Regions from separate parts of the Homo sapiens genome. Here regions 1, 2, 3, 4, 6 and 7 are each linked to region 5. The links are contacts of gene promoters, found by promoter capture Hi-C in blood cells and fetal thymus (Javierre and others, 2016). All regions are on one chromosome and are shown on one strand. The core of a region is centred on a gene start or on the middle of the fragment in contact, and the rest is flanking DNA. Distances in the headings are between cores, read along the strand shown. Region 1 overlaps AKR1B1 (aldo-keto reductase family 1 member B). Region 2 overlaps LOC124901750 (a long non-coding RNA gene). Region 3 overlaps LOC124901750 (a long non-coding RNA gene). Region 4 overlaps BPGM (bisphosphoglycerate mutase). Region 5 holds the start of WDR91 (WD repeat domain 91). Region 6 holds the start of SLC35B4 (solute carrier family 35 member B4). Region 7 holds the start of AKR1B15 (aldo-keto reductase family 1 member B15).

Region 1 (3,600 bases), core at 145-2,644, 760 kb after region 5:
TTTGCCAGGTCAGCCACTAACCATTTGGTGATCTTCCATGATCCACATTCCCCCTCGTTTCCCTTTAACTTATTTCTCTCTGCTGATACCTCTGAGGGGCCATCTCCCGTGTCTCCACCCCTTGAAGCAGATCCTCATACAGTGAGAATTGACACATGGGCCTTTGAATAAACATCAGTGATGTGCTTAACTTCATGATAATCTCCCAGAACCGCTTGAAAACAAGCGACTGCCGGTATCAGAAGCCATGCATGAAAAGAGAGCGTAAGGGGCAGGCATTCACTGGCTGAACTGGGGAGCCACATGGGAATTGGGGTCCATAGGACATCTATTTTTGAAATATTTTGAGATATTTGAAGGAAATGGTTTCCCTTACTATCTCAGCATTCAGAGTGTGGGGAAATGTTTTTAATACAGTGGTTTGCAAATCAGTGGATGTGAAGAAGCAAGAAAATGAGATGGCTTCAGCATATCTTTTAAAAGTGATCTCACCTACACTTAAGTGGCTGTCAGATTCTCCTACAGGGCAATGCTGTGTGGCCTTTCACTTCCATCCCCCGCGTCTGAGGCTGATAGTCCAGAATGCTGCTGAGGAAGTGCACGTGGTCTGTCTTTGCTGAACAAAGTGGCAGGCTGGTCAGCAGGTATCGGTGGCTGCCACTGCCCCTCCTCCTTGCTGTGCAGACTCTGCATTCTGCGGGGCTCACGTTCTTTCTCCTTTCAGTCCCCTCCAGGGCAGGTGACTGAGGCCGTGAAGGTGGCCATTGACGTCGGGTACCGCCACATCGACTGTGCCCATGTGTACCAGAATGAGAATGAGGTGGGGGTGGCCATTCAGGAGAAGCTCAGGGAGCAGGTGGTGAAGCGTGAGGAGCTCTTCATCGTCAGCAAGGTATCGTTCCGCGGTGGGGCTGGAAGGGGCTCTCGGTCCCATCATCTGTTGGTGCATCAGCCCAAAGCCAAGTCCACACTCAATACAGCTACACTTTTCACTGATGGGCGATTCTTCCCGGGGAAACGTATCACCCACGGCCATACAGGGCTCCAGAGCTCGCCCATCCTTGGCTCTCTGTTGAATGGTCATTCCATCTGGGCCCATTGCTTAGAGTCCCGTGCTGATGAGGCTGAGGTTGTGGATTGGCCCTCCCTTTCCAGGGAGTCGCTTTCAAGGATGGAACTTGGTTCCCATCTGCAAACTGAATCTCCAGTGCTAGCCACTGTCTTTGACCTGAGATACTGATGCACAAAGGACATGAGGCAGGAGGATGGGGCTGGCTCCACAAACACCAGCCCGGGGGGAAAGTTTCGAGAGTTCTTGCTTAGGCCTAGGGCAGGCTAGCCAATCTGTCCATTCCATTTTGTGTCCTCTGGTCCTTGTAAGAGGTCTCTGTGACCTGGTCATCCTGCCTGCCTTTGGAAAGTTAGGATCCAGTACGCAGTGGAAATGCCCTCACAACCATTCACAGCATCATGGTAAAGCAAATGGGTTTTGGGGAGAGGAGACTGCTCTGTCTTTCCAGCCAGGAAGCTGCCTTGTGGCTGGCAATGATGACATGTGCCCTCTCGCTGGCTTAGCTGTGGTGCACGTACCATGAGAAGGGCCTGGTGAAAGGAGCCTGCCAGAAGACACTCAGCGACCTGAAGCTGGACTACCTGGACCTCTACCTTATTCACTGGCCGACTGGCTTTAAGGTATGGGATGCCTGGTGCAGACCAGGTCCCTTGGGGCTCAGGTGCAACCTGTGGTGTGTTTTGAGCTCCCTTAGCAGATTACGTGTGGGTGACTTTCTGTTCTTGCTGCTCAAGGTATAGCCAGTGGACCATCAGCACTGGCATCACCTGGGAGCGTCTTAGAAATCACAGTCTCGGGCCCCACGCAGGCCATTTGAATCCGCACCAGCAGTGACTCATACGCACACTTCTTCAAAGTTTGAGGAGCACTGCTCTTTGCCAGTTGGTAGATGTGCAATTTAAAACTGTCAGCAAACACAGCTGCTGTCTGTAGTGCACACAGCCATGAGGCACGGTCAGCCCTGGCCCTCCCCTCCAGGCACGTGCACACACCAACCCCCATACACATGAGTCCCTACCCACGTTCTACATGCATACCCTGTCCTGTGGAGGCCCGGTAACTATTTGCAGTCTAGTTGTTGGCACAAGAAGAACTTGAGAGTTACTTTGTCTTTTGCCTTTTTTCTAGCCACTGCCTCAGTTTTCTGCTGTGAGCCAGGTTCAAAGTGTGGGTTTAGCTTTATCCCGTAGCCCTGTTTTATTGCACCACAGCATATCAGGGCTGAAGGGACTTGACTTTTATCTTTTGATTTTAGGGGTAAGCTGGGGAGGCTGGGCCAGGTGGTAGTTTTATAGGCCAGTGACCCGCCAGGCCTTGGGCCCTGTGAGTCCTGGTCTTGAGTCCTTCCTGTATCCACACATTGCAGTCAGTGGCGGGGCTAGTCTCTGTGACCAAGTAGTGTCCATGTCTCCGTCTGACAGTCTCAGCTCCAGCCCGTTTGATAAAGAAGTGTTGGCTATCTGCCTATTTCCTTTTCATAGTGGCACACAGATTATCCCTAGCCAGCTGTGGTGGTTTAGAATTGTTTTAGATGCCAGCTTCCCCCAGCAGGTCTGTGAAGGACTATTACTGATTGTTTTGTTTGTTTGTTTTTTATTGTAATGACAGCCTGGGAAGGAATTTTTCCCATTGGATGAGTCGGGCAATGTGGTTCCCAGTGACACCAACATTCTGGACACGTGGGCGGTAAGACAGCCCCTGGTTGGACCTTGTTTTCGTGACTGGTTCCCTCTTCTTCTTAGAAGCAATCTGCCTGCCATTTCTCACATTGCATTTTGTTATTCTGTCCCTGTTGTTTGCTCTCTCTTTTTTTTTTTTTGAGTTGGGGTCTCCCTCTGTTGCCCAGGCTGGAGTGCAGTGGCACAATCTCGGCTCACTGCAAGCTCCACCTCCTGGGTTCACGCCATTCTCCTGCCTCAGCCTCCTGAGTAGCTGGGACTACAGGTGCCCGCCACCACGCCCGGCTAATTTTTTTGTATTTTTAGTAGAGACGGGGTTTCACCGTGTTAGCCAGGATGGTCTTGATCTCCTGACCTCGTGATCCGCCCGCCTCAGCCTCCCAAAGTGCTGGGATTACAGGCGTGAGCCACCGCGCCCGGCCTGTTTGCTCTTCTTATCTCATTAAAGCCAGCCTGGCTTTCGTCTCACTGTCTCTTAGCTTCTGAAAGGTCTAATTCACTGGCACTGAAGAGTGAGGGCAGGACCCGTTAAACTGGTGCAAACGACACTTCTGATCCTGTCCTTTCTGGGTTCGTTTCTGCACCACACAGACACTTTTCTCTGTAGGCCATGGAAGAGCTGGTGGATGAAGGGCTGGTGAAAGCTATTGGCATCTCCAACTTCAACCATCTCCAGGTGGAGATGATCTTAAACAAACCTGGCTTGAAGTATAAGCCTGCAGTTAACCAGGTAAACATCCCCCAACGACACTGGCATTGCAACGTTGCTGTTTTACTGTCTGATGCTGGTAGGGATTTCTCGTCCACCTCACCCAGCAAGTGGCCAGGAGGCAGCTCCTGGGTGTTGGC
Region 2 (4,007 bases), core at 988-3,487, 520 kb after region 5:
TGGATCACGAGGTCAGGAGATCGAGACCATACTGGCTAACACGGTGAAACCCCGTCTCTACTAAAATTACAAAAAATTAGCCTGGTGTGGTGGCACACGCCTGTAATCCCAGCTACTCAGGAGGCTGAGGCAGGAGAATAGCTTGAACCCAGGAGGTGGAGGTTGCAGTGAGTTGAGATCAAGCCACTATACTCCAGCCTGGGTGACAGAGCGAGACTCTGTCTCAAAAAAAAAAAAAATTAAACTAAAAACAGTATGGGACAGTGGCCAAGAGCGTGGGCTTTGGAGTTAGGTCAACTTGGATTTGAATCTTGCTGCAGCTATATACTAGCTTTGCGACTGTGTCTTGCTACTCAGGTTTTGTGAGGCTCATCTGTAAGATGAATATAATAAAAATGTTCACCTCAGAATATTATTGTGAGGATTAAACAAGATCCAAGACCTGGCTTAAATTGCCATTAGAGAATGACCCAGGGGAGCTTATTCATTGTAGCTAAATGATAAAATTTAAAATCAAGATTTAAATGCTTTCAGAAGGGGTGCATTTAGAAACACTGAAGTCTCCTTGTTACTCTCTTTTTAAATATGATAGGAATTACAATTCTTATAGAGATTATGCTACACAATGATCTATGTTTACACAAGAACGTAAATGTTGTCTTGGAGAGATTACATGCTCAGATGGCAGAAGCTCTTCAGTGGCAATGAGGGCATGGGCTACTGGGCTACTCTTTGGCTTGGAAGACCTTTCCTGTCTTCCGTTCACCCTACCATGGCTCAATTTGGCTTCTGCCTACCTCCCCAATCCCATCCTACACCACTTCAGCCTTCACTACTGACCTTAGCTGTTGTCTGTTGCCTAAACACCTTCTTCAAGTTGTTCAGGTTACACTGACCTTACCTATTATCTGTTGCCTAAACACTCTCTTCTGTCTCAGGACTATTGCACTTGTTACTTCTTCAGCCTGGAGCGCATGTACAGGTACACACACACACTTACGCAAACACACACAAAATCATTCAAAGTTCAATATATATGAAACCTTTTCAGAGAAGACTGTCATCACCATCCTTGATGATGCGTGGTGGCTTTTAGTCATATAAAATGGCTTTATATATTTTAAAGTACTTTTTGTTATAAAGGTATATTTTTCAAGGCATAAAAAATATACAAAACATATTTTATATAGCAGTTTATTAGCTTGGTTGAGTTTTTAAATATTTAGACATTACTTACAGCAAAACATTGAAAGCACCTAATTTTTTTTTCCTGTTGGACATTTAAGTTCTATCCAAATGATGCAACAGTGTTCAGCCATGGAGTAAAATTGTTTGAAGTCTATACAACATGGAGAAATCCTTATGATAAAGACAAGAATAAAATATGAATATAAATCAAGAATATGTCTAAGTGAAACATGCATATAGAAAGAAAGAAATAAAATAGTTCTTAGGATGGGAACATTAGGGAATCTTTCCCACTTATTTTCAAGATGTTTATATGGTTATATTTAACTCTATAATTACAGGTTAAAAACAGGTTGCAACTCCATAAGTAACCTGTTTCTGTACCATTATAGCAGCTGCCTATGGAGAAGGGCTCGGTGCTGACAGGCTACTTAGCCTCACCTGCCTTCCTGTCCGGCAGTGGTAGGATTTCCACCTCTGCTTCCATGTATTGGCATGGTAGGAAGACAGCCGCAGAGAACAGACAGGTCAGATCAAATGCCAGCCAGGAGAAATATTTTAGGCCAGGCACAGTGGTTTACACCTGTAATCCCAGCACTTTGGGAGGCCGAGGCGGGTGGATCACCTGAGGTCAGGAGTTCGAGACCAGCCTGGCCGACATGGTGAAACCCTGTCTCTACTAAAAATACAAAAAATTAGCTGGGCATGGTGGTGCGTGCCTGTAACCCCAGTTACTTGGGAGGCTGAGGCAGGAGAATCACTTGAACCTGGGAGGTGGAGGGTGCCGTTACCTGAGATCGTGCCATTGTGCCATTGCACTCCAGTCTGGGCGACAAGTGTGAAACTCTGTCTCCAAAAGAAAAAAAAAAATAGGAAGAAAAAAAGAAAACAAAAACCCAGCTGCGAGAAATATTTTAAAGAACAAATCTAAAACAGTGGGCAGTTTGGCCCCCCAAGTGGATAATTCTAGGGAATTCTGGAGTTTAAGTTTGCATGACTTTGGCTGGCACCCAGACTTAAATCCATTCAGTTCTCCTGCCAGTGAAGCGAACAGACAAGTGAACAAGCCAGATCCAGCAAGAGTCGATCACAGGGCTCCACAGGAGACTGTTACGAACCCTGAAAGATGAGCAGATATTAGGCAGGCAATGAAAAGAGGGCAAGGTGGGGTGGGTGATGGAGGGTAGTTCAAGGCCAAGGGGACAGCGGGTGCAAAGGCAGAGCCTAGGAGGGGTGCTGGACCTCTGAAGGTCTGAAGAATTACCCTGACGACTGTCTGGAGAGGACTAGAGGAGAGTAAAAGCGGAAGCAAGGGGATCAGCTAGAAGGCTGCTGAAATGTTGAAAGAGAAAAGATGAGGGCTTAACTCAAGGCAGAACAGTGGGGATGGAGAGGGGATGAATTTGCAAGGTAAGAGGTGACGGAATCAGCAGGACTTCATAACCATCAGAAGAAGAAAAGTCAAGGGTGATTGTCAAGATGCTGGCTAGACATCTGGGTGCACTGGTGGGACCAACATTGCCAAACAAGTGTCTAGAAACAAACGAGTACTTGGTATTCATTCGTATTTTAGATGGAAAACTGCCTGCCCCTTTCCCATATTCTGATCCATGGACATCTATGATGTTTATATTTACATTTTATGGTTACATAGGGTAAACTCTATAGTTAATAATCAGGGAAAGAAGTCGCACCGAGGAAGGAATTCCAAGCCTCTTTAGAAACAATCTTTTGTCATAAATATCCAGAGGCATTTATGAATAAATACTGACCCCCAGTGTCTACGTACAGAAACAAAGATTTTAAAAACGATATAAAATACCAAGACTCCTGGGAGAGTACCTGGAATTCCAGCTACAAGTAACATTCCCTGCAATCCAATCCCAGGATCCTAGCAGGCATCCTCAGAGATAAAAATACTGACTAGCTAACCTATGGCCAGCGGCCTTAGGTCTGGAGAATTCTAATGAGTATTCTACAGAATGAGTGTCGGGATGGATTACATAGCCTCAATTGTGTTGCAGAGCTATGTGTTGGCCTTTGCCCCTCTGCTTCAGAGGTTACATATGTCAAGGTCTAGGTTCAATTACTCCTAAGAGTCTTCCCACTAAGGGTAGATTTTATGCAATTAATCTGACTAATACAAACTCCAGCTCTGTCTGATTCCCCATCCAGTTCAACACGACATCCAGAGAATTTTCCTCTCAGGCAGATACAAAGCAGTGTGGTTGGGCAGACATTCCCTCTTCAATACTGTGTGGTTAGGGTTAAGTTCACGAGAATTTTTTTTTTTTTTTTTTTTTTGTGATGGAGTTTCACTCTGTTGCCCAGACAGGAGTTCAGTGGCGTGATCTTGGCTCACTGCAACCTCCATCTCCCGGGTTCAAGTGATTCTCCTGCCTCAGCCTCCTGAGTAGCTGGGATTACAGGCACGTGCCACCACGCCCAGCTAATTTTTGTATTTTTAGTAGAGACAGGGTCTCACCATGTTGGTCAGGCTAGTCTTGAACTCTTGACCTCGTGATCCAGAAAGGAATTCCATTACTATTGGTTAACTGCAAGGTGATGGCAGTCATAATCGTGTTTCAGATTTGTTGTTTCAGCACACAAGCTCATTGCTGGTCTGATGCAAGCTGTAGCCTCAAAGATAATAGAAATAAAATAAGTATACAATTTGTTTCTTGACAAGATAATACAGACTTAAGAAGTCTTTCTCTTGGGCCAGGTGTGGTGGCTCATGCCTGTAATCCCAGCACTTTGGGAGGCTGAGGCGGGCGAATCACTTGAGGTCAGGAGTTTGAGACCAGCCTGGTCAACAT
Region 3 (4,130 bases), core at 1,253-3,752, 590 kb after region 5:
TAATTTTCCATCTTTTTGCTACTCAATTCAAAATTGAAGACTTTGTAAACTCTCTGTAACCAATTTCCTTGTAAACGCAACTCATTTCTTGCCCTCCCTTTCCCCATGCCTTCTTTCCTGAGAAAACTGGGGCAAGTATTCATAAACATCTGTTGTGGTTGTTCTTTGATTCGTTGCAGATTTATTCTGTGTTCTGTTATGTTCTTTGTCCTGGGAACCTGACCTCTAGGTACTGTGTTACCGAGGTTCCCTTGCCCTCTGGTCAGTGGGAGGAGAAGATGTTGGAATATTTATTTTCAATATATCTCTCCTCACCATTTATTCCCACTCACCATCTGCTTCACCGTGGTTCTATCAATGGCCTCATCACTCAAACTATAGCTACCGTTGGGCAGCCCATCTTGACTCTAACTCTTAGCCAGTCTCCAAAAATTGCGTTTTCTCCCCCTACTGTTCAGGCCTGGGGATCATCAGAACTCCCTGCTATTCCTAGTGTCTGGGCACCTCAACATCCCTTGCTAGTTCCTCTAACCCGAACCACACCTCTAAATATTTCCTTTATGAAAAAGCCTCTACACAACAAAGCTGAGTGTGCTGTCTCTCTTGCTGAGAGGCTGATAGAGCCTCCTGTCTTCAAGTTCTTCACAGTTCATGAGACAGTGTCAGACTTAGGGATCATAGACTCCCCTAAGCCTGAAATTTAAAAAGTACCTGAGCACACAGACTCACATTTCCCTCTGTGCACTCACAGTACTTAGAGGGAAGCATGATGTCAGGAATAAAAACAAACTGAACTAATTAAATAGGAACATTTTTCTGAAACACCCTATGCCGTTTGAGTTAGAAGCCCATAGGAAAATATTATATTTGCATTTTTTCGGTCAAGAATGATATTTTCTGGGGACAGAAACAGAACTTGGGAAGATAATGACCGTTTGTGGAGCTATTGGGATGTGTATCAGCTATTGCCACAAAAATTCTGTGTCACAAACCACCCCAAAACTCGGTATCTTAAAATAGCAATCATTTAATCTCACAGAGCTGCAGGTCAGCTGGGTGGCTCTGCTTCATCTTCTTCATGTGCCTTGGACCAGTGACTAGTCAAGACACACTCTTCTCGTTGCAATGACTAGTCAAGACACACTCTTCTCGTTGCAATGATAGGGGTGCAAGAGGCCAGGCCCAACCACTCAAGCACATTTCAACCCCCTATTTCTGTCACATCTGCCAAGGCAAGCCATGCAGCCAAACCCAAAGTCAAGGATTTGGGGAAGGATATTTCCCTTGTGGAGGTAAAAGGGGGAAGGAGTGAATATTTTTGAAAGTACTCTACCACAGTGGGCCAGCTACAGAAAAGTCATTCTAGAGTGGGCTACAGTTTGTTCAATTAAAGGCAGGAGAATTTTTGTTTCAGAGTTTTTCTTCTCATTCTTCGTAAGTGAACAAGAGTGACTTTACAGTGTACACTACTCAGGTGATGGGTGTACAAAAATCTCAGAAATCATCACTAAATAACTTATCCATGTAATCAAATACCACCTGTTTTCCAAAAACCTGTTGAAATAAAAAATAAATAAATAAAATCAAGCTAAATATCTTGGCATCCAGAAACTTTTTTAAAATGTAGAGATAGTATTGCCCTAGAAATAGAGGCATTTTGGGGTTTTAGATACCAATCAAATGTTATTATGAAGATTTCATTATCTGTTCATGGTTAAACTGGTATTGCCAGACTTTGAGACCCTAATCAAGCTTTGTCTATTTTTATTTTCCTGCAAGGTTCAGATCCCAAAAGAATTACTCTCATTCTGAATCCTGTCTGAGACTCAGTACACACCAATGAGTATGCCTGTTGGTAATTCTACAATCTGGATATCCAAAAAAGTGGCCAAATGGTCCAAAACTAATACTCCCTTATCTGTACAGGAGCTCCCTAATTAGTAACTAATTTGTGCTTTAACTAAGGTTTATTTGAGCCCCTCAATTTGGAAGGGGTTAAAGTTGAAGATTCCAACAGATTTCACCAAGCTTAGTATCCACCAATTCTTTCCTATCTTAAGAAGGGGAGGAAAATATTTTCCTTATATAGGATTGAAGAGGAACAAAAAGCCCTTAGTTATATTGATCATCGGGAGGAAGGGGAAAAAAACTATTTTAAATGGTTTGAAACAAAGGAACAGCAAAGAAAATAGGGAGCAGAACAACAGGAAATGTCCATTATGCTGCTAGCACAGTGTGTGAACCAAAGAGTGTCCATTAATGATGATTGACATCAATAGAAACATTAGCTTGCACCTCCAGTTCTTGAGGGACAGTACAGAAATCCAGAGCAGGGAGAAACAGTATGATTTGCAATCATGACAAACCTCACAGATCAGATAATCCTAGCACTGGAATTTAAGAATAAATTGGTTTGAATAGATGAAGAAGAAGGAAACAGTGCTAGAAGACAGAGAAAGTATATGAGAAAGGTTTTGGAGTTAAGAATGAACAAGAATGTTCAGGGAATAGTGAGACCACCTTAGCCCATATAGGAAAGTGGTCAGAAATTAGATGGGATAGAGATCATGGTGCCAGATTATGAGGGTCTTAATAGGCCAATTAATCTAAATTGTTATGTGGTAGATGTTAGAAGCTGTTGGAATTCCTTGGTGGAGATATTTAGTGCAAACAACTTCAGTTGTCACAACAGGCTAGTCTTCATTGTGATTCTTGGCTAGCTTTTGACTTGGAGATAGTCATGATCACAGTGGACAAGAGGGGATGATTCATGTGTGTTTCGACTCCTTTACAAATTTAGTTTTAGCCTGAATCATAGAAAGACTCTATAGCCTTTTCTCATGCATTTGTTGGCAGCAGCTGCTTGTTCCCATGGGAACATACACCACTTACCTACTCAAACCTTCCTTTTGCCCTCAGCTTTTATTCATTGAAATGTTTCATCTTTTCTACAAAGGATATTTACACATAAGCTTAGAGCATCATCTATTTTTTTCTTCCACAGCTGAGAATTCATTCTGAATATTTGCAGATACATAAAACTCCAGGTGTAACTCCAAGCAAAACATGATGAAAGAGGGAATTTGGATAAACCATGGAATGATGACATCACATTGAGCACCATCTGGTATAAACATTTTTGCTTTCTGCAGTGACCAGATGAAGGAAATATGGTGCCGTGTGCTTCTTCAGTGATTAATTCAGGAAAGCCTTTGCTGAGCTGAAATCCAAAATAGGAAGAACCCACCTTCCACATGTTCAAGAAGCTTGTGATCCCAGGGATGACACTGCCCTTTTCCTCTGAAGGAAAGAAGTTTCCCCTGACCATAATGCCAAAGCTACAAACACTTACATACCTCCATAATTTTGCACTGAACTCTGCTCACATAGTACACAATAATTTCTGCACTACTTTGTTCCTGTTCCAAATTCTAGTGGCTTGAAATCCAAAATAGAGGAAGTTAAATCATAGCAGTTGTACACTTTAGAGAAACTTTGAATTTGGCTACTAGAGATTTTCTAAGGTATTGCTTTTCTTAATTTATATGAAAACTATTGAGCTAGGTTCTAGATTAAGTGCTGGTGATTCAGACATGAGTAAGTCATGATGCCACCTCTGGAGTGTTTCAGGGAAGACAGTTACATAAAAACTAAGCTGTAATAGAATTTAATAAGTCCTTTAATAGAGGTGCAGAGTTCTGTGGGAACGTAGAAGGAAGAATAATTGCTTCTTCAGTTTCAAGGAGGACTTCACAGGGCAGAAGGCATTTGGGCAAGTCTTGAAGGATAAGCCAGGACTCCCCAAGTGGGGTGAGGGCACTTGAGGTGGAGAACAGATGAATAAAAGCAGCAAATGAATAAAAGCATCAAAGTGCAGTGTTGGTTGTTACTTCTTTTTATTCCAGATGAGACAAGCCAGGAATCAGGGCATACAGGGATCTGGGAGGCTGCTCTCTGTAAGCACAGCCTTCTCAGCACACATCTGCTGCAAGCCGAGATTTCAGGACTGCAGAATCAGGCTGACTGAATCATAAGGGTATTATGACTTCCTGGGAAACAAAATATTTGCAAACTCTTTCTTTTTTTCTTTTTTTTTTTCCTGGGACACGGTCTCACTCTGTCACTCAGGC
Region 4 (4,079 bases), core at 1-2,500, 550 kb after region 5:
GTTGATCCAAGGGCACATCGCATACTTTATACCTCCGGTCGTTGTAGATTTCTTGGTAGTAAGGATGAGACTCCTCAATGGGAGGCGGGGTTACATTGTAGCTTCTTCTCCAGAGCCTCACTTGTTCTTCACCATGATTCAAAGCCATCTGCTCCCTGTTGAGACCGATCAAGGCCCCATAGTGACGCTCATTTAGACGCCAGGAGCTTTCCACAGGCACCCATTCCTGGCCTAGCTCTTCCAGGATCAGCCAGGCTGTGTGAATGGACCGATTAAGGACAGATGTGAATACAAGATCAAACTCAAAGTTTAACGCTTTGAGTTGCTTCCCACAGTTCCGAGCTTCCTCCATTCCTTCGCTGTTGAGTTTCTGATCCACCCAGCTACAAAAACGGTTCTCCTTATTCCAAGCACCCTCTCCATGTCTTAACATAATAAGTTTGTACTTGGACATACTGATGGCTGAACTTCCCAGGCGTTTTCAAATGGGCTAATATTCAAGGACAGCAATACATCTAGAAAGACAAGAACAACAAGTCTAAGTTATATTCAACTGACAATCTAGGAATAGAAACATCGCTTTACAACACCCAATTTCTAAAAGAAACTGAAATCCCTTTGAACAGTCAGAAATGTGATAACTCATACACTGTGACACATACAGGCATATTCTATAGATATTAATAATTCATTACAGGGAATCTAGTTGACTTAAATTTTCTGATGTTTGGATAGCATGTTAATTGCATGACATAAAATAACAAAACACTTCATTCTAATGGCATGCTGTGTTTCTGCCAGATACAAAGGCAATTTATGCTTACAGTAGAAAGGATTTAATAGAATGAGTTACAGACGTCTGAAAGAATGACTAGTGGCTGGGAACTCCCAGCTCCCAGCAGCTGACTCTACACTGAAGGCATCCTTTTCACTTTGTTTTCCTGTGGTGGAAAAAGAAGTATTTACCAGTCTCACATTCTTATTATAGAAGTTATTAAACATGTTATTTCAATGCACCACTGCATATATCTGATATGTATCACTGGCTGGTGGCAACTAGCTCTTCAATGCCACAGGCTACAACACACAAGAAAATCTAAGGTATGCAAAACACATCAGTTCAACATTCAGACAAATTAAAAGTGCTTTAAAGAGACATTAACACCAAATATGGTACGTACCTAAATAATCTTGCACCTACCTCAAGATAGAGTTTTCAGCAGGAATAAATCCAGATGCAAAATAAGCTATCAAATGCAAGCAGCTGAGGGATGCTGCCTGTACAAACAGATCTGGTAGGCAGGAGTGAGAGGAACCACACTGATAAAGAGGCCCCACCTCCTCCTCCCCAGCCCTCCAGATATCCTACACACACCAGCTACGTCTTAGCAGGGGGAGAATCTAGTAAAGGGAGACCAGCAACTCTCAAGCTATGCTGAACTCCTTACATTTAAGCTGCTGGCCTGAAGATCTGCTGGGCCCACTCCATCCTCGGAGAATCTGCTGACATGGCTGCTCAGCCCGCCTCTCTCTCTCCTTGTGGTGGACACATCTGCACTGACACATGCTTGGTTTACACGCCCGGCCTCTCCATCTCTCCTCCAGTGTTTTGCACACTGGGTTGTAAAGATTATACGAGCACTACAGCCTGGTCTTCTGCCACTCTTGGCAACTTCCATTAACTGGAGATTTTCTCTCCCACTTAAACTGTGAGTCACCCACAGTAAAATAACAATCAATGGCAAAATTGATTGGAATCTAGATCTAGTTTCTACCTTTCTTTAGTAATTCCTAGAGATTCTGAAGGGAAAACAGTCTTTAAAATAAGGCTTTATATTTCAATGGAAGGCAAACAGAGGACTTAAGGAAAGAAATCAAATTGAGGTGATTTGCAAGTATCGTCATGTGTTGCTTAATGAAGGGAATATGTCCTGGCAAATGCATCATTAGGTGATTTTGTCGTGCAAACAACATAGAATGTACTTACACAAACCTAGATGGTATACATATTGTTACTTATGTTTTTTCATATGGAAAGCCAAGTATCCCAGCACAATTACTGAATATCAGTCATTTCCCCTACTCGATCTGCAATGCCAATGTCAAGTGCCACATATCAGATGTCTATATATGCTCCATTACCATCTTACAGGGCCACCATCATTTACACGATCCATGCTTGACTGAAACATCATTAGGTGGTGCATGACTGAAGTTGAAAGGCTACAGCAGTTAGGATGATGATTTTCCTTTCTTGTTAAGTACCAGGTTGCTGTGCATGTGCAGCAGGGAAGTGCCAGGGAACCAGAAGAGCCTGGGCTCAGGACCCAGATTAAAGCATCCCACAGAGCTGAGAATTCCCAAGGAGGAAGCCCAATGTCTCTGTCCTTAGCCTAGAAGAGGCATCAGGGTGGCAGAACAGAGAAGGGAACAAAAGGTATCTAGGCAGTGTTTTGCCAGATGACTGCCTGTGCCCAGGGGCAGAATAGTCATGAATCTAACAAAGTTCAAGCTTCAGAGCCCCTCACCTGTGAGAAACCAGGTGATGAACACACACACACACACACACACACACACACACACACACACGGAGGGGTGTGTGTAAGTGTGTTAATTTGCAAATGGAAGATATTTTTGCAGTGTTTCTTTACAAAGCCCCAATCCACCAAGTAGTAGAAGCCTCAGCTCCATCAAAAACTGTATCTACCCTTTGTAACCATTGATCATTTTGTTTTGTTATTGGTAGTGGAGGAGGGGGATGGAGAAAAAAGAAGCTATCAACTGTTCCTCTACCTTCACCCTCAGTTTATCTTGTCAAGTGAGAAACCTCCATAAGCTAATGAAGCCATTCTCTCTTCAGTTAAAGAAGGGCATGGTTAGACAAATTTTGTAGACAGAAGCACCTTTCCACCATCTTTTGATTATAAACTATATCAAGGGGACAAAACAATGTAGTAATAGCAACATGGACACTCAGGCACCCACCACCAAGCTTTGTGGTATCTTATTCTCCTATATTTGCTTACTGCATTAAAACAAAGTTCTGTTTTCTTTTTACTAAAAAAAAAATACACACACACACACACCAGAACAGAGGAACAGTACTGCAGTCACAAAAACTATGCAAATATGCATCCTTCCCTCACTCTGAAGCACAGGAATACATTTACGCAGGTGAATACATGATAAAGTACTAAACTAGTATGTCTATCTCAAGAAAACAAAAGGTCACTTTCCTCTCTCCTCCCTAGTACTATCAACGGACTTTTCCCACTTAACTGCTGGATACTTACAAAGAAACTGCTGAGGATTAGCTTGCAAACATAGAAACTTCAGTCAACATCCACAGGAGCTGATTTACCCAGTGTTTACCAAGAAACACACAACGCTGTAGCCAGTGTGATTTAAAGTTTAAGGCATGGATTGCAAACTCAAATGCCTGCAATGGGCAGGCAGCTGTGTGAAGCAGAGTGCAGCTGGACTATGCAGAGTGATGGGCACAGTGACCTGCAAGGACCATGCATGCTTCTTTGAAGGAGGCAACTCTTGTGTAAACAGAAAGTTTTCCGATAACCTCATCTCACTGAGCCAACAGCACTGTTCTTAGAACTTTTCTGGAAAACAAAAAGAAGATGGGATTGCTGACATCGAAGACTAGGATGAATGCAAGACTTAGAGTCAGACCACAGAGAAACTTTGAGTAAATAAATGTCTTTTTTAAAAAAGCTAAAACAATCATTTCAAAACCTCCTAAAAATTCATGTAAAAAATCAAAGGAGTACCTACTACTTAGCTCCAGCCCATTGCCCTGTGATACTGAGCAACTGAGGTTTCTAGATCTTCCAATTAAAAAAAAAATGAAAACGTGTATTTTTATCTGATATCTGATTTAAATATTAGCAACTAATGTATATTTGTAAAATGTGAGTGAAACAAAACATTTCTTCTGCAGGCTAGATCGTGGCTGCTAGCTTATGACCTCTGACTTAAAGGGAAACCTCCCCTAGGCCACAGATAAATGGTACAGCCACTATACCCCAGGAGACGGTCAGAACCCAAGCGTCTGGACCACTTAACCA
Region 5 (4,120 bases), core at 929-3,428:
TCATACCATTCGAGGGAAGGAGAAGGGAACACTCCATGCATTTTACCAATAGGCCATTCACTGTGCTAAGCGTTTTACATACACTGTCTTATTAAATCTTCATTACTACTGTGCAAGGTGGGTGTTATTGTCACCATTTTTTTTTTTTTGAGACGGAGTCTCGCTCTGTCGACCAGGCTGGAGTGAAGTGGCGCGATCTCGGCTCACTGCAAGCTCCGCCTCCCGGGCTTACGCCATTCTCCTGCCTCAGCCCCCCCGAGTAGCTGGGACTACAGGCGCCCGCCACCACGCCCGGCTAATTTTTTGTATTTTTAGTAGAGACGGGATTTCACCGTGTTAGCCAGGATGGTCTCGATCTCCTGACCTTGTGATCCGCCTGCCTCCGCCTCCCAAAGTGCTGGGATTACAGGCGTGAGCCACCGCGCCCGGCCTATTGTCACCATTCTGCAGAAGCAAGTCTCAAAGATATTGGCTATTTTCCTACTTACAAAAATACGTGCACCTTGTAAAAACTTCAACAATAAAAAGAAAGTAAAAAACAAGAAGTCCTTCATAGTCTCACCTCTCAGATAAAACCACTCCAATTGTCACTTGGTATCTGCAGGGGGTTGGTTTTAGGACCCTCCCTAGAAGACCAAAATCCATGGATGCCCTGATGTAAAAAGGCCTAGTATTTGCATCTAACCTATACACTTCCTCCTGTATACTTTAAATAATCTCTACATTGCTTATAATACTGAATACATTGTACATGTTATGTAAATTGTTGTTATGCTATATTTAATTTGTGTTTTTAAAAATTGTATTCTTTTTTAAACTGAGACGGTGTCCTGCTCTGTCACCCAGGCTGGAGTGCAGTGGTACAATCACAGCTCACTGCAGCCTCGACCTCCTGGGCTCAAGTGATCCTCCTGCCTCAGCCTCCCAAGTAGCTGGGACCACAGGCAGCACCACCACGCCCGGCTAATTTTTTTTTTTTTTTTTTTTTGAGACAGAGTTTCGCTCTTGTTGCCCAGGCTGGTATGCAATGGCGCGATTTCGGCTCACTGCAACCTCCACCTTCTGGGTTCAAGCGATTCTCCTGCTTCAGCCTCCCGAGTAGCTGGGATTACAGGCATGCGCCACAACGCCCGGCTAATCTTGTATTTTTAGTAGAGACGGGGTTTCTCCATGTTGGTCAGGCTGGTCTCAAACTCCCGACCTCAGGTGATCCGCCCACCTCGGCCTCCCAAAGTGCTGGGATTGCAGGCGTGAGCCACTGCGCTCCGCATTTTTTTTTTTTTTTTTTTTTTGTGGAGATGTGGTTTCGTCATGTTGTCCAGGCTGGTCTCCAACTCCTGGGGCCAAGAGATCCGCCTACCCTGGCCTCCCAAAATGTTAGGATTACAAGTGTGAGCCACTGCGCCCGGCTATTTTTTATTTTTAAAACTTTGGAAAAAATATTTTCAATCCTCGTTGGTTGAATCCGTGAATGCGGAACCCGAGGATGCAGAGACCCGACTGCATAGGAACTTGGTGTATAATCTTCCTGAATTTAAAAAATGTACACACATACATACCTAATTTTTTTTTCACAAGAAACCAGGACTATAGCGTACATACACTGCTATGAAATTTGCCTATCCTAGCAGTGCATCTTGGTTATCTTGCTGTGTAGCCAATTCGTCTTACTAATGAAAGCAGAGATTTGGGGGAGTTAGCGCTCTCTGAGGACACGCGTGTTGTGGCTTCACGCAGGTCACTCTGCTCTTAGGGCTCCAGCTTCCTCCGTGTAGGAGGAGGGCAGGGGACCGGGAGCTCTGCGATGTAACGCCAACCAACAGGGCGCCGCACCCCCTGCCCGCCTCGGGACTACCTGGGATGTTCTTAAGATCCAGTCTTGTTTGACGTGGGTGGCAGCCGCCACTTTCAGTAATTCAGACAAAGCCGCCGCCGGCGCCGCCAGGACCTCCCCTCGCCACTCCTCGGGAGGGGTAAGGGTGACTCGAGCGGCCAGGCGGGCTGGGGCTGGCTCAGGGGCGGGGCCTCGGGCGGGGAGCCGGCCGAGGGGCGGGGCCTCAGGCTGGTCGCCCAGTGCGTGCGGGCTGGTAGGCCTGTCGCGGCGTGACGTGCTCGGCGCCCGCGTCCGGCCCCGCCCCATTTCTCCCAGGCCCCGCCCCTCCGTCCCTCACCGCACCACCCCTAAAGACGCTAGCGCTGCGATGGCGGAGGCCGTGGAGCGCACTGACGAGCTGGTCCGGGAGTACCTGCTCTTCCGCGGGTTCACGCACACACTGCGGCAGCTGGACGCCGAGATCAAGGCGGACAAGGAGAAGGGGTTCCGGGTGAGAGGCCGGCGGGAGCGGCGCGGGCAGAGGCGGCCCGAGGGAGCCGGGGAGCGGGCTTCCCCCCAGCACTGCCTCCGGGGCGAGAGCGGCGCTGTCACTCGCGCCGGGGCGCCGGAGACCTCAGCGCGTCCGACCCCAGCTTGACGGATGAGGAACTGAGACCCTCAGACGGACAGGACCTGCCTGAAGCCGCCCCCCGAGTCAGGAGCATCGCCGAGGCTGGAGCCCCGATGCCCCGGCTCCTGGTCTAGGGTTCTGTCTCCACTCCAGCCTCCTTGGCCAGGATGGCGATGAGGTTTTAGGAGCCGAGGTTAGGTAGATGGTTGCGTTTTGGCAACAGATATTCGTGTTGGCTTCCAGTGGCAGTGGAAGCAAAGAAGTCTGCAGTCCAAAACGTTAGCTGCGTTCAAGTATCTGCGGTGTTTGTTTAAAATGGCCTCGTCAGGGACTCATCGGCAATTTTGCTTCTGCAGTTGTGGAAGACCTCATGGCACATTAGAGAAACCCAAACTTCCCCTGCTCTAAAATGATTTTCCATTGCGAGGTTCTTGGAATGTATATGTGTGTGATTTGTATGTTTGTGTGTACTGACTTCAATGAGAGGCAGTGAGCTAACAGCAAGAGCACTGGAGGGGAGTTAGGAGATCTGGTTTCCTGCCTGGCCAAAGTTAGTGGCTACTTAGTGGCAAAAGCAAATCATTTCACCCCTCTGGGCTTCAGTGGCCTGATCTATAAACTAGGGGCATTGGATTGGTATTGATATCCAAACCCTTTTCCAGATTCTGTACTCTGCTGTAATTGCTCCTCACAAGAAGGTGACTTCCTTGGCTGACACTCTGAGCAGCTACCACGGCTTCGTGGAACTTTGATGACTTGAAGGAGTCAGTCCATGCACCTCCTCATGATCCTTGGGATCTGGGAATTGTGGAGATTGTCTCATAGCTCTTCTTCACCCCACCCCCTTTTTTAAAAATGTGAGGTAACTGAAACTACAGTTAAGCAACACTGCCATTTTTTTTTCTTTTTTGACAGAAAGTCTCACTCTGTCGCTTAGGCTGGAGTGCAGTGGCACGATCTCAGCTCACTGCAACCTCTGCCTTCTGGGTTCAAGCGATTCTCCTGCCTCAGCCTCCCGAGTAGCTGGGATTACAGGCGCGTGCCACCACGTCCAGCTAATTTTTGTATTTTTAGTAGAGTCGGGGTTTCACCATGTTGGCAAGGCTGGTCTCGAACTCCTGACCTCAGGTGATCCATCCACCTCAGCCTCCCAAAATGCTGGGATTACAGGCGTGAGCCACGGTGCCTGGCCTGATGACACTGCCAAATTGATCAAGTAAGTCAGAGGCAGATCCAAGATCTGGAGCCAGATCTCTTAGGTTCTGGGCCAGAGCCCTTTTACACCTGAAATTTCCGTGCTTGCTAGAGGGTCAAACCACTTCTCTAACATCAGAAAATTACTGAAAAACCGTTGCATTAGTATGTTTTGAAAATTTTATAGATTGCTAACTTACAAATTTTTTTTTACACCCAGAAGCCATGACAAGAGGAAAAAGCTTTATTCCATGGAGGGGAGAATTCCCTTCTGTCCCTTACCACCTTCTCCATCCATGTTTCTCGCCAGGTGGATAAGATTGTGGACCAGCTGCAGCAGTTAATGCAGGTGTATGACTTGGCTGCCCTTCGGGATTATTGGAGCTACTTGGAGCGTCGGCTCTTCAGCCGCTTGGAGGATATATACAGACCCACAATCCACAAGCTGAAAACCAGCCTGTTTCGATTTTATCTTGTCTACA
Region 6 (3,724 bases), core at 1,202-3,701, 890 kb after region 5:
TCAAGAAATATTGGGTTTTCATTGTAAAAAGCCACTGCCAGATCAAGTAAGGTGAGACTGTGTTATATGGTTTTCACAATTAAGAAGTCATCACGGCTCTCAACAGGACTGCTTTTAATACCCTGGCATTGATCAGAGTAGTTTAAGAAGCTGATTGGAGATTTAACAAGTAGAGACTACGAATGTAGATTACTCTTTAAAGAGAGTTGATGGTAAAATGAGGGAGGAAGAAAGATAAGTTAGTTTCTTTGAGCATGATTTTGGTCTGAGAACAGGTTTGCTAGCAAGAGTTCTCTGAGCAAATGAGAGGGGAGGATAGAGAGGTCTTCAGAGTTAATGATTTTACAGGCTTCTGCTCTCCAAGTGCAGTCAACAGGTCAGTAGCACCAGCATCACCTGGGAGCTACTTAGAAATGCAGAATCTCAGGCCATGCTGCAGGCCTAGTGAATCAGAATCTGCATTTTAACAAGATCCCCAAGTGATTAACATGCACATTAAATTAATACTCACTGCAGTAGGTGAAGACAGAAATGTGGAGGAAGGAAGAAAGATACAGAACTCTTGCAAATATTACAGTACTCAGGCCATTTTTTTCTTGTGCAATCACTTAGACATGCTTGGGTTTTTATCTGAGATGTAATGAGAAATGTTTAGAACATCCTTTAAGGGCTTCCAAATTAGTGGCATATATGGAAAATGAAGGTCTGTGTGAAGAGAAATCACCTCTAATGAAATCCAGATGAAAATCCAGACCAGCTTCCTGTTGGCAGGATTATTGATAGTGGAGGTGGAGATATTATCATTGCTTCAGCCTCACTCCCAGATAGTCCACTTTACTTGGTCTGAGGTAGAACTGGTACTATTATATACCTGTATATATACCAGTTATATATATATATATATGTGTGTGTGTATATATGTGTATATGAATATAACTGGTATATATACGTGTATATATGTATATATAATTCATTGTTTAATGTGCCAGCACTGTGCAAACTCAAGACGGGTGCTCATTAAATACTGAATTTCACAGGTAGTAGGCTTTCTATTTATGTTAGTTCTTCTTCCTACTCACCTTTTTAAGGCAGCAGTTCTCAAATTCTAGAATGCATTAGAATTAGAACGTGGAGTGCTTGTTAAAAATACAAGTTTCTAGAACCCATACACAAGGATTTTGACTTGGTAGGTCTAAAGCGAGACCCAATAATCTGCACTCGATAACGAGTACTTCAGATGATTCCAATGTGATCTCCCAGTCACGGACTGGGAAAAAAGCATTCCAAACTATTTTGTAGATCTCGAGAAAGACTTCAGAATGTTCGTGTCTCACAGGAAATAGCAAAAACAATATAGCATTCCAAAATCCTACCTAGCTTTGTACCGTGTACTTTGCTATTGCTGTTGGATTCAATTACAACGGAAATATTTGATGTGGTAAAATACTGAGCAGTGATGCTAACCTTTTATAGTAGACACTGGGAAGCAGAAAGGAAGTGTAAACACGTTTCCCTTAAAAACTAGTCTTGCTGGGTGGATAAAGTGTGCATACCTATTTTACAAATAAAGAATAGTGCCGCACTAGCTTATGTACGTAATATGTGCTTAACAAACATTTGTTCATTGAGTAAGTAAGAGTCAAGTCGAATGGCTCAGATTGTAAGTGCTATGAGAATTCCACTGTAAGAAGAGGGAAGTATGCCTTCTTTTCACCATTAAAGATCTGATTGCTGATATTGGCATTTTTGCCAGTAGAAGAGCCTGGACGTTGGCAGTTTTCAAAGCCCCCAGGTGATTTGACTGCGCAGCTAAGTTTGAGAACCACGGAGGTAAAGGAAGGGAGTACCTTAAAGAGCTAGGATTAGGGATAATATCAATAGATCACCTTTAAGGCTGCACCTCAGCCTAATTAAATCAGAATCGCTGGGGGTGGGACTTGGCTATCAGTCATCTTTAAAGCTCTCCAAGTGATTCCAATGTACAGACGTGGTTGAGAGCCATTGCTTTACTTGAATTCTCAGTGGTTCTTAATCCTGGCAGCATAATAGAGTCACCAAAGATACATATATATATATCAGTTCAGGAAGCAGAGTTGTTTCAGATGCTAGAACACCTCCAACGAGCAGTCACAGCTCTGTAGTTCTAGTGCCGCCGCTGCCAGCAAGTTTGTTGTGACCCTGGCGGCCGAGTTACTTTCAGCGCTCTGGGCGGTCTCGCAAGAAACACTGACGCTTTGGGACTTCATTTCCCAGCAAGACCCGCGGCCGCCTATCGCGCGAGTCATGCCGGGCACCTCGTCCCCCTGTCCTCTCTGGCGGAGCTGCCTGGCGGAAGCGGGAACGTCGCATCCTGAGGTAAAGGTGCACGGCATCCTGGGACATGTAGTCTGGCCGGGGCTCGGACGCCCCCTCGGATGAATGGGACCGAAGCTGACTGCGAACTACAGCTTCTTGGCAGCGTCGGTGTTGGCCGCGGGAGAAGGGGAGACCGCGGCGGCCCCCAGTGAGAGCGGCTTTCCAGGACGGTGCGATGTGCTGCGCAGCGAAGAGGCAGGAGGCCGGCTTCCTGGGGTAGCGGTACAGGCGGGCGCTTACTCTGTGCGCTTGCTTCCCCAACCCTGCACCGGCCATGCGCCCGGCCTTGGCGGTGGGCCTGGTGTTCGCAGGCTGCTGCAGTAACGTGATCTTCCTAGAGCTCCTGGCCCGGTGAGTGACCCGCTCGGGCCGCACCCGGTCTCCCGGGGCGGGGCGGAGGAAGCCAGAGGAGAGGTCCCCCCGGGACGCGCCCACGCCCTGTCCCCACCCCGCCGCCCACGGAGCCCGGGGCAGGACGGCCTGAGCCCCCCAGCAATCCGTCCTGTCTGGGCAGCCTGGGACCCCGCTGAGTCCGCTGCTTCCCAAAACTGCGCACCGGCGGCAGTCCCGCCTAACAGTTTCAAAGCATTCCTGCGAGGGGAAGACTCAGGGTGTTGCTGTCGTCACCCCTTTTCCACACTCGGGGGGTATTGAAGTCTGAAGAGTTTTTCACATGACCAGTCCAAGGTCGGCAGAGAGCTAGTGTCAGAACCAAGGTTCCTTCACCAAACCACTCTCTCTTCCTTCCCATCCAACTCTAGCTCTTTTTTCGATCCTGTTAAATGGCACAGGCTGGACTTGAGCAAAGGTTTTTGACTTGTAAAGCAGTCTGACTTTGTACATACTGCAAAGAAAGTTTTATTTTTATTACGGCATCCTGCAAAGCATTTGCTTTATTGGCCTTGGAAATGGTTATGAGTACTTTGCCCAAACATACATAAATGATGCGGTAGAACAGATTTTTATGTAGAAGATCAGTCCACGTGACCCGAGAGTGCTCTTTGAGGTGGCTTGCAAAAAGACAAAAAAAAAAGCAAGTAGAAGATTGGTCCAAGTGACCTGAGAGGGCTCTTTGAGGTCACTTTGAATGTGCAAAGTTCAGTGGATAGAAGCTATAACAGAAGAGACAACAGGTGGTGTGGAAAAGCCTCCAGGACTAAAAAGCTGGGTTGTGAATTTCACTCTTGGCTCCGTCGTCCACTGGCTGTGTAGCCCTTCAAGTCACTTAGCCTCTCTTGGGCTCCTTTTCCTGGCAGTAAAACAATACCTATAGTGTTCTCTAGCTCGTGTTTCTGAATCTATACATTACAAGTTGAGTATCCTTCATTTGAAATGCTTGGGAACGGGTGTTATTTGGTGTTTTTTGTTT
Region 7 (3,883 bases), core at 602-3,101, 660 kb after region 5:
TGTAGGGAAACTGATCGGGGTGACCGGGAGTTCCAACAACGACCCACCACACAGCCTGAACAGCTGTGAAGTGTAGTGACCCGTCTGGGGGCCACCCAGTTCCAAACTTTGGCCATTCTACTTCGCAGAGTGTCCAGAGTTTGCCTTTTTTAAGGCGGACCCCGTAATCATCTGAGAAGCCTAGAGAGAAATTCTGCAACATACACTGGAGAGGACTCCAATCTTTATGGGGCCGGGAAGAAGAGTTTACTATTCTGGAGGCAATTAACAAGGTTTGAACAAAAATATTAAACCCAGCATGGACAAAGATATTCACGGCCTGGGAGGCTATGGTATCAGAAGAACAGAAGTATTATAGCTAGAAGAAGTAGGAAAACAACTATAGCCAATATTTCTTGCCACATAAGGTCTGTCTCCTCAAGCTTCGAGATCTATGGAGAGGATAAGAGGTGGGTCCAAGGGATCCTCAGCCAGTGGGACTTAGGTGACCCCCCCTTCTTGACTTATATCCCAAATAACTTTGGTGTCTCCACGACTCGAAAGCAAAATGTTCAAACTCGGTCCTTTCCTTCACGGGTTTAAGGAGGGAGAACACAGCCAAGTCTTAGAGACGCTGGACTTGCTGCAACACAGGAAAATGAGATGTGCAGGGTAAGGGATGGGGATGAGGAGGAAAGGGGCCACTTGGATTTCCCTAAAGGTTGGAGAGTAGCCAAAAGAGGTAAAATAAGAGTCCAGACAGAGTAGAGCAGTATGGGTGTAGGTTTCTCTGCACAGTGCCTTATTTAAGGGCATGGGAAAAGTTATGGGATGACAGAAAAGGTGAGTAAGGAGGTCAGCAGGGTGGCTATTTTGGATCCACCACTGGTCTAAGGAGAAGGTGGACCAGTCGTTGGGGCGTGGGGTATGGCAATCCAAACGCCAGCAATCTTTATGGTGCCAGAAATCCTAAACGGGTGAATGTCTTCCACACCCTTCCCCATAACAACACCTAATTTGTTTCTGACAGGAAAGGCAGGACTGGGATGGCCAGCCCAACCGACTAATGAGGAATTTGACCTCCTGGGATAGAAAATCTGTACTAAGGACCTTGAAGAAGTCCTTGCCCAGTCATTTTGGGCAGTATCGACGATCCGACATATGAAATTTAGACAGACACTAAACAGGACAATAGGCACTGGGGTATATAAACAAGCATGGCAATTTTTATAGACAGACAAGGGGAGGGGGTCCCGTGATGGGATCAGTCAGATGCCCTCCTGGCTGCTCCCCTTTCGGGGACTTAGGCTCCTCTTGGCATTGGCAGGCTGGTATAAACCCCTGGCTTGGATCGAGCTATGCCTGATGCCGCCCTAAGCCTTATGAGGTCACCACGGAACCACAGGTGAGGGCCTTCTCGAATTCCCTAGCTTTCACCCTGGAGCTACAAACTGGAAATTCAAGCGCAAGCCCTTGAACTCCACATTCACTCACTCACTCACTCACTCAGAGTTTATTACAATTTTTATACCCATTCTAAAACAGAGATCTCCCGGAGACCTGAATGAGAGAGGGAGAAGAGATAGAGAGAGAGAGAGACTAGACTTAACAGAGAATCCTGACAGAAACCAGGACTCTGTCCTCCAGTGTCCTGGAGCATGGACAGAGTCTGAGGGAGGACCTTCGTCAGGGCCGTTTCCCTCCCAGAGAGACAGAGTCAGATCTGACTTACCTTCCCGGGACTAGAGACTGAGGACTCAGGAGTTGAATTTGGCTGGGCGCACCGGCAGTCGATCCGTTCCCCTCCAGAAGACAGTGGCCTGTGGAGCCCTGGAACGTCTTCAGGTGGCCCTGTAAGCCAGCTGTCTGTCTGGGGAAGCCCGGAATGAGTCAGGTCTTCACCCGGTGGCGAATCTCTCTGGGGCTTCCAAATGTCGTAACCGAGCAAGTCATAGAGAGAATGCCACACTCTGAGACTAATTCAGGAGTCCTTTATTGCTGGCGACTGAGAAAGAGCTAGAGCTTGAAATTCTCTCGGTCCGGAAGAAGAGGCTAGAGTTCTTTTTATACCTTGGCCTAAAGAGGGGAGGGGGAGTCTAGCTGAAGCAATTTTTTACAGAAGCAGAACAGGAAAAAATTAAAAGATAAATGGTTACAGAAACAGTTACAGGAAAATAAACAGTTCCAGGTGCAGGGGCTTAAAGTATCCCAAAGTGATAAAAGCAGGGGCTTTGGATACCACCAACCAAGTGTGCTCCCAGGAGCTGCTGGTACAGCTTGCCTCAGTATCTTATCAATAAGCGCATTCTTGGATGTGCTTGGAGTCAGCTTGCACCAGTTATGTCCTTAAGGAGGGGGACAAGGGGCTGCAAGCGAAGAAACCAAGCTAAGACTCTCTCAGCTATTGACTCTCTCGATATTGACTCTCAATTGAGTCTCCCAAGCTATTGACTCTCTCAGCTAAGAAAGAGTCAATCAGGATAAAACAAGATAGGGTATCACAATTTGATCTGCAAGATTATTTCCTGGACTTGTGAAAGGCGAGTCGTTTTGGTGCCCTGGGACATGTACAATAGCTATCTCTTCTGGCAATTGGAGATTGTTGAGGACACGAGCATCAGTTCTCTATGAACTAAATCTTGGCCTCTACTATTGATAAGAGCCCTCTCCATCCAAATTTTCCCAAATGTGTGTGCCTCCCCAGAGGGATACTTAGAGTCAGTATAGATAGATTTTCTTGGTTTTGTAAATGTCCTAAAGCTTGGCTGAGTGCAAACAGTTCACACCCTTGGACAGACCAATTATTAGACCCCCTTCCTGATTTTACTTTTTTAACAGTCTTTCCATTAATCACTGAATACCTATTATGTCTCTTTCTTTTAATCACCTGGGAGGTTCCATCTATGAATAAGTGCCACCCTGTCTTGAAGGGAGTTTTTCCTAAGTCTGGTTGAACTTTCGTATGGTAATTAATTCGATTTAAACACGCGTGCTCTCTCGTTTTACGTTTGGATCCCCCGTTAAAGAGCCTGCTGAATAAAGTGAATTATTAGTACTTAATATTAAATCACCTTTTTCCCAGAAAGATAGCCTCATATTTTAAAATTTTTGAGTTGGTAATCTCCCTCCTTGCGTTTTGATTTAATATAGTTTTAACTTGGTGGGTTGTGGCCTGAAGCGGCTGGGGAGTAACTTGAAACCTCAGCTGAAGGGACAGCACAGGCTGGGGCGTGGCCTGAAACAGCTGGGGAGTAACCTGAAACCACAGCCGGAGGGACCTGAGAGGGGAACCAAAGGGGCAGGATTGGGGGCGCTGAAGGAAGGAAGGTGATTTAGAGGATCCCATGTCTTGGTAGGTATGGGTTGTCTAGGCATGGGAACTCTTTCCTTTTTAGAAAGGTTGGTTTCTGATTTTCTCCCTCCAGAGTCTAAAGGGTAAAGGAGAACTGGTCCCTGCCGCCAGCAGAGGGCGTAATCGATTTTTCCTGGGACACAGGGCTCTTACTGTTAACATATTTGATTAACAGCTGACAAATTCGCTCTTCATTAGACTTAAATTTTGGCCAGAAAAGTGAGGGCTTAAGGATGGGTTCTCGAACTTAAATAAAACAACAATATTCTATCATCTGCTGTTTTTGTTTATACTTGGTTCTCTTATTATTTTTTCAATACTTTAGCATAAGCCCCAAGGGGCTATCAGAAGGAAATTCATCACTCTCTAGACTCTTTAGTTTTCCTGTCTTACTTGAAACGTTCCCCATCTTAGGGATTATGGGGAGGAGGCCCAACCCCTCCTGTGAGATTTCTACCCTCCCCCTTCCTGGAGGCTTACTGAGGCTTTGGGGAAAGGCTCCAACCCAACCTGTTTGGATTTCTACCCTCCCCCTTCCTCTTTGTCTACTCT

The links. The method cuts DNA at HindIII sites, captures the fragments that hold promoters and counts their contacts. A CHiCAGO score of 5 or more calls a contact.
Region 1: a contact is called between a fragment that was not itself captured here and the fragment with the promoter of WDR91 in region 5, in 6 of 17 cell types (monocytes, activated CD4 T cells, naive CD4 T cells and 3 more). The highest score is 8.1, in monocytes.
Region 2: a fragment that was not itself captured here is called in contact with the fragment with the promoter of WDR91 in region 5 in 7 of 17 cell types (megakaryocytes, naive CD4 T cells, activated CD4 T cells and 4 more); the score reaches 7.0 in megakaryocytes.
Region 3: a fragment that was not itself captured here is called in contact with the fragment with the promoter of WDR91 in region 5 in 9 of 17 cell types (naive CD4 T cells, activated CD4 T cells, monocytes and 6 more); the score reaches 9.0 in naive CD4 T cells.
Region 4: a contact is called between a fragment that was not itself captured here and the fragment with the promoter of WDR91 in region 5, in 2 of 17 cell types (total CD8 T cells and neutrophils). The highest score is 5.5, in total CD8 T cells.
Region 6: the fragment with the promoter of SLC35B4 here is called in contact with the fragment with the promoter of WDR91 in region 5 in 4 of 17 cell types (naive CD8 T cells, total B cells, total CD4 T cells and 1 more); the score reaches 9.4 in naive CD8 T cells.
Region 7: the fragment with the promoter of AKR1B15 here is called in contact with the fragment with the promoter of WDR91 in region 5 in 12 of 17 cell types (naive CD4 T cells, M0 macrophages, endothelial precursors and 9 more); the score reaches 13.1 in naive CD4 T cells.

What each region holds. Positions count from the first base shown.
Region 1 is chr7:134,448,878-134,452,477 of GRCh38, reverse strand. It overlaps AKR1B1 (aldo-keto reductase family 1 member B), which reads left to right. Exons shown (of 10, transcript NM_001628.4): 2 at 725-892; 3 at 1,576-1,692; 4 at 2,681-2,758; 5 at 3,359-3,481. Among named protein-coding and RNA genes, the nearest start is that of AKR1B1, 8.4 kb to the left of the region's middle. RefSeq lists an enhancer at 3,124-3,600. The HindIII fragment of the contact is 5,053 bases long and covers 1-3,600 here.
Region 2 is chr7:134,685,992-134,689,998 of GRCh38, reverse strand. All of the region lies in intron 1 of LOC124901750 (a long non-coding RNA gene), which reads left to right. Among named protein-coding and RNA genes, the nearest start is that of BPGM, 41 kb to the right of the region's middle. The HindIII fragment of the contact is 5,670 bases long and covers 1-4,007 here.
Region 3 is chr7:134,618,823-134,622,952 of GRCh38, reverse strand. LOC124901750 (a long non-coding RNA gene) reads left to right here. Exons shown (of 2, transcript XR_007060537.1): 2 at 3,005-3,866. Among named protein-coding and RNA genes, the nearest start is that of BPGM, 26 kb to the left of the region's middle. The HindIII fragment of the contact is 944 bases long and covers 2,031-2,974 here.
Region 4 is chr7:134,657,883-134,661,961 of GRCh38, reverse strand. It overlaps BPGM (bisphosphoglycerate mutase), which reads right to left. Exons shown (of 3, transcript NM_001724.5): 2 at 1-515. The coding sequence starts at 454. All of the region lies in intron 1 of LOC124901750 (a long non-coding RNA gene), which reads left to right. Among named protein-coding and RNA genes, the nearest start is that of BPGM, 13 kb to the right of the region's middle. The HindIII fragment of the contact is 2,528 bases long and covers 1-2,514 here.
Region 5 is chr7:135,209,584-135,213,703 of GRCh38, reverse strand. It overlaps WDR91 (WD repeat domain 91), which reads left to right and starts at 2,178. Exons shown (of 15, transcript NM_014149.4): 1 at 2,178-2,324; 2 at 3,949-4,120. The coding sequence starts at 2,202. RefSeq lists a silencer at 1,936-2,475 and an enhancer at 3,646-4,120. The HindIII fragment of the contact is 4,223 bases long and covers 1-3,882 here.
Region 6 is chr7:134,315,657-134,319,380 of GRCh38, reverse strand. SLC35B4 (solute carrier family 35 member B4) reads left to right here and starts at 2,451. Exons shown (of 10, transcript NM_032826.5): 1 at 2,451-2,706. The coding sequence starts at 2,630. RefSeq lists an enhancer at 1,931-2,660 and a silencer at 2,741-2,910. The HindIII fragment of the contact is 10,331 bases long and covers 1-3,724 here.
Region 7 is chr7:134,547,078-134,550,960 of GRCh38, reverse strand. AKR1B15 (aldo-keto reductase family 1 member B15) reads right to left here and starts at 1,851. Exons shown (of 12, transcript NM_001080538.3): 1 at 1,712-1,851. LOC105375520 (a long non-coding RNA gene) reads left to right here. Exons shown (of 3, transcript XR_928005.3): 3 at 1-3,604. RefSeq lists an enhancer at 1,781-1,840. The HindIII fragment of the contact is 2,317 bases long and covers 425-2,741 here.